Linked DNA regions of Homo sapiens: region 2 is linked to region 1. Evidence: promoter capture Hi-C in human tissues and cell types (Jung and others, 2019). All regions are on one chromosome and are shown on one strand. The core of a region is centred on a gene start or on the middle of the fragment in contact, and the rest is flanking DNA. Distances in the headings are between cores, read along the strand shown. Region 1 holds the start of GRXCR2 (glutaredoxin and cysteine rich domain containing 2). Region 2 has its middle 19 kb from the start of SH3RF2.

The links. The method cuts DNA at HindIII sites, captures the fragments that hold promoters and counts their contacts. A contact is called where the count stands out against the background at its distance.
Region 2: a fragment that was not itself captured here is called in contact with the fragment with the promoter of GRXCR2 in region 1 in 5 of the 25 tissues and cell types used here (adrenal gland, mesenchymal stem cells, psoas muscle and 2 more).

Annotation. Positions count from the first base shown.
Region 1 is chr5:145,871,313-145,874,932 of GRCh38, reverse strand. It overlaps GRXCR2 (glutaredoxin and cysteine rich domain containing 2), which reads left to right and starts at 1,919. Exons shown (of 3, transcript NM_001080516.2): 1 at 1,919-2,300. The coding sequence starts at 1,965. The HindIII fragment of the contact is 8,071 bases long and covers 1-3,620 here.
Region 2 is chr5:145,916,002-145,919,723 of GRCh38, reverse strand. It overlaps a transcript of GRXCR2 not described here. Among named protein-coding and RNA genes, the nearest start is that of SH3RF2, 19 kb to the left of the region's middle. The HindIII fragment of the contact is 6,073 bases long and covers 1-3,722 here.

The DNA.
Region 1 (3,620 bases), core at 670-3,169:
ATTTGACACTCTAAATCAGGAGACAGAGTACTGGATAAGAGACAGAAACTTGTGGGTTTGAGAAATGGGTAAGCTTGTTGGTGTAACTGGAACACCAATCCCAGGCAGCCCCTGGAAGAGTGACAGAGGGCAAGGCTGGAAAGGAAGGAAGGTGAGGCTGGTTTTTGAGGGGCTTTGCTTGTCACATGGAACAGTTAAGACTTAAGCCCTGATGCACTAGAAAAGATTTTTCAGCAAGAGACTGACACCTGTGGATTTGTTGTTTTGGACTATTGCTCTCACATCAATATGGAGAATGGAATTGGGGGTGAGTAGGGAAGTCCTTGGGAGACAGCTGCAACTTTAAAAATCAAAGTGATGAGGGTTTGCCCTAGGGCCAGGGTGATAGGGGTAGATGAAAGAAGGCAGTGGTGAAAGAATCCATGTGAATGGGCTGGGTGCGGTGGCTCATGCCTGTAGTCCCAGCACTTTGGGAGGTCAAGGCAGGCGGATCACGAGGTCAAGAGATTGAGACCATCCTGGCCAACATGGTGAAACTCCATCTCTACTAAAAATACAAAAATTAGCTGGGCATGGTGGCGTGTGCCTGTAGTCCCAGCTACTCGGGAGGCTGAGGCATGAGAATTGCTCGAACTCAGGAGGTGGAGGTTGCAGTGAGCCGAGATCGTACCACTGCACTCCAGCCTGGCAACAGAGTGAGACTCCGTCTCAAAAAAAAAAAAATAAAATAAAATAATAAAAAAAAAGAATCCAAGCGAATGGCTGTAGGGGAATAGGAGGGGTCAATTTGGGTAACTCAGTAAATGGTGATGCTGGTAGCAAAGACAGGGAGAAAGGCTTTACTCCACTTTCAGCTCCTCACATCCAACCTACCATTTTCTACCCAGCCCAAGGGCCCTTTTCTTTACAAACCTTCTTCCATCCTTGTCTCCTTAGAGACCACTTCCTTCCCAGAGTGGCTATTCTGGGATTCAGCTGTGGGCAGTTTGCTCTCTAAGCATGAGGTTATTATTTCACCTGTGTGAGGTCTGTATGGGATTGTAGGACTGTTCTCAGGCCCAGGTCACATGCTTCTGTGCTATTCACTCCAGCCACTAGTTCAGTGTCAGGCATTTACGAAGTCCAACAGGCAATGGGGACTTGTGCTGTGATTGCAAATGAAATCTTAAATGTAAAATACATACCAAGTGGAGGTGCTCTGGTTAGCGTAGGGGGAGAAGGCCCAGAATCCAGGACCCTCGGCCTTCTCCTGTTCTTAGCAGCAGCCTCCAAGAACCTCCACTGTATCTAGGACGTCATTCCCTCTTCTAGAACCAGAACTGGAAAACTTCTGGTTGTGTGGGCTGATCTTGGGTTTTGGAGTCAGATAGATCTGGGTTCAAATCCCTGCTCTGTCACTTACTTAGGTGTAATAGAGCAGACAAATGATGAAGATAAATGACAAGTGGCTCTAAGCCTCACTTTCCCCTGTGTAAAACAAAGGTAAGATTTTCTTTGTAGGGTTATCGTGAGGATGAAATAAAATAATGCATGTAACAATCTCTGGTACTTATGAAATGCTCACTAGATTTTAATTGTCATTGCTAACAATAAGAAGACACTTGTTAACTAATTGAGTGTCTGATCCTTATTGAATTGGCACATGTTCAGTCTAAATAAACTTCTTCATCCTCAGGTTAAGAAAGGTTAGGGTTGGGGTGAAGTCATGGTGAGCTTGGGATTATGAGAAGAATCAATCTTGTCTTATATTCCATCCACTCCATCAAACCAGAATCACCTGCCTTTTCATGAGGGTCTATCAATATTTAATGTATGGGTGTCAGTTGCTGTAAACTGACCATACCCCAGCAACAACTTGAATTAATTATATGCAGGAGGAGAGAAAATAAAATGCCTTTTTCTCAGAGGCCCAAGTTTCACCGGCTGCACGGAAGGCTGGAGACCACAGGGTCAACTTTCTGCTGATGGAGGACCCTGAGAAAAAGCTGAATCAGAAGAGTGATGGCAAACCCCGGAAAGTACGATTTAAAATCTCCTCCTCCTACAGCGGTCGAGTATTGAAGCAGGTCTTTGAGGATGGGCAGGAATTAGAGTCACCAAAGGAGGAATACCCTCACAGTTTTCTGCAAGAGTCTCTTGAAACAATGGATGGTGTTTATGGGTCTGGGGAAGTCCCCAGGCCCCAGATGTGCTCCCCTAAGCTGACTGCTCAGAGGATCAGTGTGTTTAGAGAGGGTAATGCCTACACCTTGGCAGGCGGCCAGCCTCGGTTCAACGATTACAAGGCGAATGACCATAAGGTTGGTATTGTGCATGGCATATAGGCTTTAAGGGTAGGGCTTCCTAAAACGTGTTTAGAGAAACTCCTAAATGGTTCAGATTTGTGTCTTGCTCCCCCTCCGGTACCAACCAGAACTGTTGGTGCACCAAATGGGAAGTTGTTATTAGACGAATATTTCTGGGGTAAAAATAACATGCTTGTTGACTACTAATTGGAAAGTGCAATGAGCATATATAGTATTCAAATTCCATCCAAGGTAATACATTGTAATTGGATCTTTGACTGAGTTTTCCTGGAATGTAAATTAAATAGAGGTGCAGTGGTTTTCAGGTTGTCAGACTGCGGTTTTAGACAATTATGCAGTCATTTTGTTTCCTGAAAGAGCTGAGTATTTGAAAGTGCTCATTTTACTCCAGCCAATTACTCAGCTTGCAGTTTATCCATGTCTTGTTTTTTACCCCTATTGCCTTCCTCATACTGCCTGCTTTGTCTATTTATTTTTCCTTTCCATTGCTCCTTAGCATAAGCTCTGGGTAGTTGGAGTCCTGGGAAGGGATGGTGAAACGCAAATCAGCCAGAGGATATGTTATGTGAGGAAGAAGTTTGAGCTAATGGTTCGATTGAAGAATGTGTTTAATCTATGAATTTCAATTACTTCCCAGTACCATGGATAATCAAAAGTCCATACATGATTTTCTTTTAAGGTAGAACCTGGAAAACATACACTGGTATCCAAAAATTCATAGGAGATGTATATATGCTGTCAGTGGGACCATGAATGACTTCTTAAAAAAGATAAAATACAATTATATAATGTATCCACGTTATTAATGAATAGCACACCAGGATGTGTTCTCATCTTTAAAGTGTGAAAGCCAGATAATTACTCTTGAATTATTTTTATTGTTAGTTTCCTAAGGGAATAGATAACACATCTATTGCAGACAAATGTATTACTGGCTTTACTGGCATTGGTAAAAGTATAATTATGGGCATGTTCACAATTACCGAAGATAACACTAGGCTTGTTTTTGATATTAAAAGGGGCTGAAATGAATGACCTCTTATCTTAATGGGGTGACGTATGCAGTACAAAGTGTCATCATGTACTATCTCTGTCTATATCTATGGCATTGGGTCTTTACTATAACCTTGGGGAGAAAGGCCAAAGTATGGTCATTCCCATTTTGCAGAAGAGAAAAATTGAGTGCCAAGTTGTTAAGGGATCCATCTGATACTACAGGGTCATTGGGTACAGAGTCAGAATAAGAATCCAGATCTTCTGATGCTACAAATGTTTTGCTTTAGGGCATGTTCCTTTTTTTAGAGAACCATATTA
Region 2 (3,722 bases), core at 597-3,096, 45 kb before region 1:
TTTTAGAAGGCGGATGACAAAGATAAGGGGCACGGTGACACCTCTGTCACCTAATGATCAGTCTGAATTACACATCTAAAATTAACAGCTTCTCCTCCTCCCTCCTACCCACCCGCCTACCCAATACTTAAACCCTTCTTTGTCATTGTTTCTCCGAGCAATTGATTCGCGAGAAATACCACCTGGATCTGCAAACCCTTGCAACTCAGGGAGTGGGACTCAGCATTGCACTGGGGTTAAGAATGGAGGGGCTGGGGTCATCTCCTCACTTGTTAGCTTGGAGAATGAGGCTACCATTTTCTTATGTAAATTGAAAGAAGTAAGGCTACTTGCATCACAGCGTTCTTGTGAGGGTTAATTAGATATGCATGCAAGGTCTCCATAAATAACAATTGTGGTTTCTATGGAGGATTTTTAAGAGTTCCTCATTGGGATCCTCTTCTGCATGCCCTCCCAGGGCTGTCACTTTTCCAGAATTATCCAGCAATGTTCGGTTGGTTTTGGGGGTCCAGATTCTCCACTTTCCCTGATTTGTCTATGTGACTTTGGACTGAAGGAGAAAGGAGGAGGATTTGGAGTGGGACCTGGGGGAAGAAATGAGGAGACAGGGACAGTGCAAGCTCTAATGAGGAGTCTGCCCCGACTTGACCGCAAGAACAGATGCTCAGTCCCTGTGAAGCAGAAGCCGTAAACTGGAGGATCTGTTCTCCCCAGGTGATGCGGGAAACTTAGTAGCTCAGAGTCCAAGTGGACAAAATACAATGCAGCATTTGGGGAGGGGCTCACACACAGCACTAGGCATGCACTAAGCACAGAAGGGAACCAAGTCTGTTTGGCTTTTCCAGGGTGTGAGGTCCCAGGCACGAAGGTAGTGTTTTAATGGAGGCCATTGTATCACAGGGATGCCAAGGTAATTCCCATAAGGACTTGTAAATGGGCAGTAAATATTAATGGAGAGCATGAGGGGGCTTGTTCCTGAGCTTCTTCCTCTAGATGGGGGGAAATCCCTAAGTAATGGGGTGGGAGGGACTACAGTTACACAGGTGGGAGCAGGTGAAGTCAGGGACATTCAGGTGACACAGCTGAAGCCTGCTTGCAGCACAGTGCTGGGCATATGGGAAGCACCCAGGAACTGGTCATAATTACCAGCTTTTCCTGGACACTTTGACCTTTCCCCATGCCCACAGGACTGGGCAGTCTCTGCTGTGAGTATCGAAGGTTGTGAGAACTCTCAGTCCTTCCTTCTGTGGAACTACAAAATATTTACTTTTAAGAGGAAAGAGTAACTTACGTCTAAGTTACTAGGGGATAGCAATGATCTTTGGCTGGCTTTGCTGAGCTGTAGACTTGGAGTCAACAGACCCCGTTCACCTCCCAGCTATTTTGCCTTTGAGCTGTGAGACCACAGGCTAATTATTTAGCTTCCTCCTCCGTAAAGTGGGAATGAAATTGCCTGCCCTACTACCAGATCATAAACATGAAAATGTTTTGTAAGTTGTAAAGTTCTGTTAAAGGAGTTAGGGAAAGGGAGTTTGTCATGGCTAATAACGAGGTCTTCTAGGAATACCAGCATTCAACTGAAAAGTGGCAATCACGGGAACTGGCATTCCCTTCTTCTGAAGTAATGAGGACTAATGAGTTCAGCCGGCCGAGCACAGTGGCTCACGCCTATAATCCCACCACTTTGGGAGGCCGAGGTGGGCAGATCACGAGGTCAGGAGATCAAGACCATCCTGGCCAACATGGTGAAGCCCCGTCTCTACTAGAAATACAAAAATTAGCTGTGCATGGTGGTGGGCACCTGTAGTCCCAGCTACTTGGGAGGCTGAGGCAGGAGAATCACTTGAACCCAGGAGGCGGAGGTTGCAGTGAGCCAAGATTGCACTACTGCCCTCCAGCCTGGTGACAAAGTGAGACTCCATCTCAAAACAGAACAAAACAAAACAGAGTTCAGCCATGGAGACAGGTGAGTGGTGGGGAGGTATTTGGGTTATTCCTGGATGTTCACCACCTACTCTTGAGGCTAGTCCATGGCACCTGAACCTAATAATCTCATTAGAAGCTGTCAGTGGGACAATCTTGAGGATGTGACAGGTGCTGCTCCCTGCTCCACACCTCTGGGGTCATTCCTCACTGTCTTCCAGGCTGTGAACTTCTAGATGAAGGTCTGCATTCTCTTCTCCTTGTTGTCCAGCACTGAGCACAGGACCTGGCACTCAGCAGACATTCTGATGGTGTTTACAGAATGATTCAGTGAGTGGGAGGGTGTGTTTTCTTTTTTTGGATCATGGTCCTTGTCTATATTCTGCACACTTACTCTCATTCTCACACCTCTTCTATTTCTGAAATGTCCTTACACTGATCTCCAACTGTGGGGAGACCAGAACATGAAAGTTCATATATTTGGGTCTAAAACACAGGAAAGCCTGAGAAAGAAGAACAAGAATTGCTTTCCTTTCTGAGCCGTGTGTGCCTTTGGAATCCACTTTGGGGAAGAAAGAAGACTTGCAAATTAATCTCGGGGGGCGAGTGGGAGTAACAGGCAAATACTGTGGAGAACGTGTCCATCTTGACATAATGCTGTTTTGTATCTTAAAAGGAGATGTGGATTCTGGAGGTTTCCCACCCTGGAAATAACTGCTTTTCAAAAAAAAAAAAAAAGATGCTTAGGAAATAAATCTGGCAATGGCTCCCATTGTTATTAGGGTTGAAATGCATGATTTGTATGTTTTCTGTATGTGGCTATGATTTTAAGTCAGGGAGCTTCTTGATTTTAAGTTAGTTTCCACGCTTGCTCCTATAACCTCTTAGCTGTGTGACAACAATGACAATGACAAAAAAGGTGATGACAGTGGTCAAGGGCTTGCTCTAGACCACCATTCATGCTTGTTCCCTATCTCACAATGACCCTCTAAGGTTGGTCATAATCTCAATTTTACTTTACAGATTGAGAGACTAAGGTTTTGAGGGTTCAGTGATTTCCTCAAGTTAATATAGGAAGTCACCTTAATTTGAACCTTGTTTGAACCCAGGCCTGATAGCTATGTCTATATCCTTCTTTGCCTCCTTTGAAAAGTATAAGGTTGAATTTATGATGAGATTATATAGATCTGTCTCTGAAGTATTTTCTAGGCAATTCAAATGAAACTCTTCAAAATACAAATTGCCCTCTGTGACAAGGAGGACTTTCCCTTCCCAATGCCTTCCTTCAAGAGCTTTTTCATAGACTCCCCTCAGGGTTCAGCCTGGGGCCTGGTGGAGAAAATGGGGCAACAGAACAATAAAACAAAAGAAAGCAACAGATCCTAATGCCTGTAACTGATCATGAATGAAATAACACTTCCCCAGCCTGGAAAAATGTCAGTTTGATGCTCTTTGTTCTAAAAGCTCTGGTTCCACAGAGCATCAATTTCCCCTAATAATAAGCTTTTTTATTCCTCATCTAATGATGCAGCCTTGTCTTGAGGATTCTTATCATCTTTATTGCTCATCCACGATGACAGACACACGTACAGTCAGTTTGTCACTTCCCTTCTTTTCTTTTTCTTTCTCGTCACACATGATTTCTGCCCCAGCAGAAGCAGGGGCTCTGAGCAGCGCCCCCCGCTTCCTCCACCTCCTCGCCTCCCACACAACCATGCACAGCTCTTTGAATTCTCTGCAGAGCATCATCTGCTTCCCCATGAATAAGCTTGTCTTTCTTTTCTTCCCTCCCCGCATGG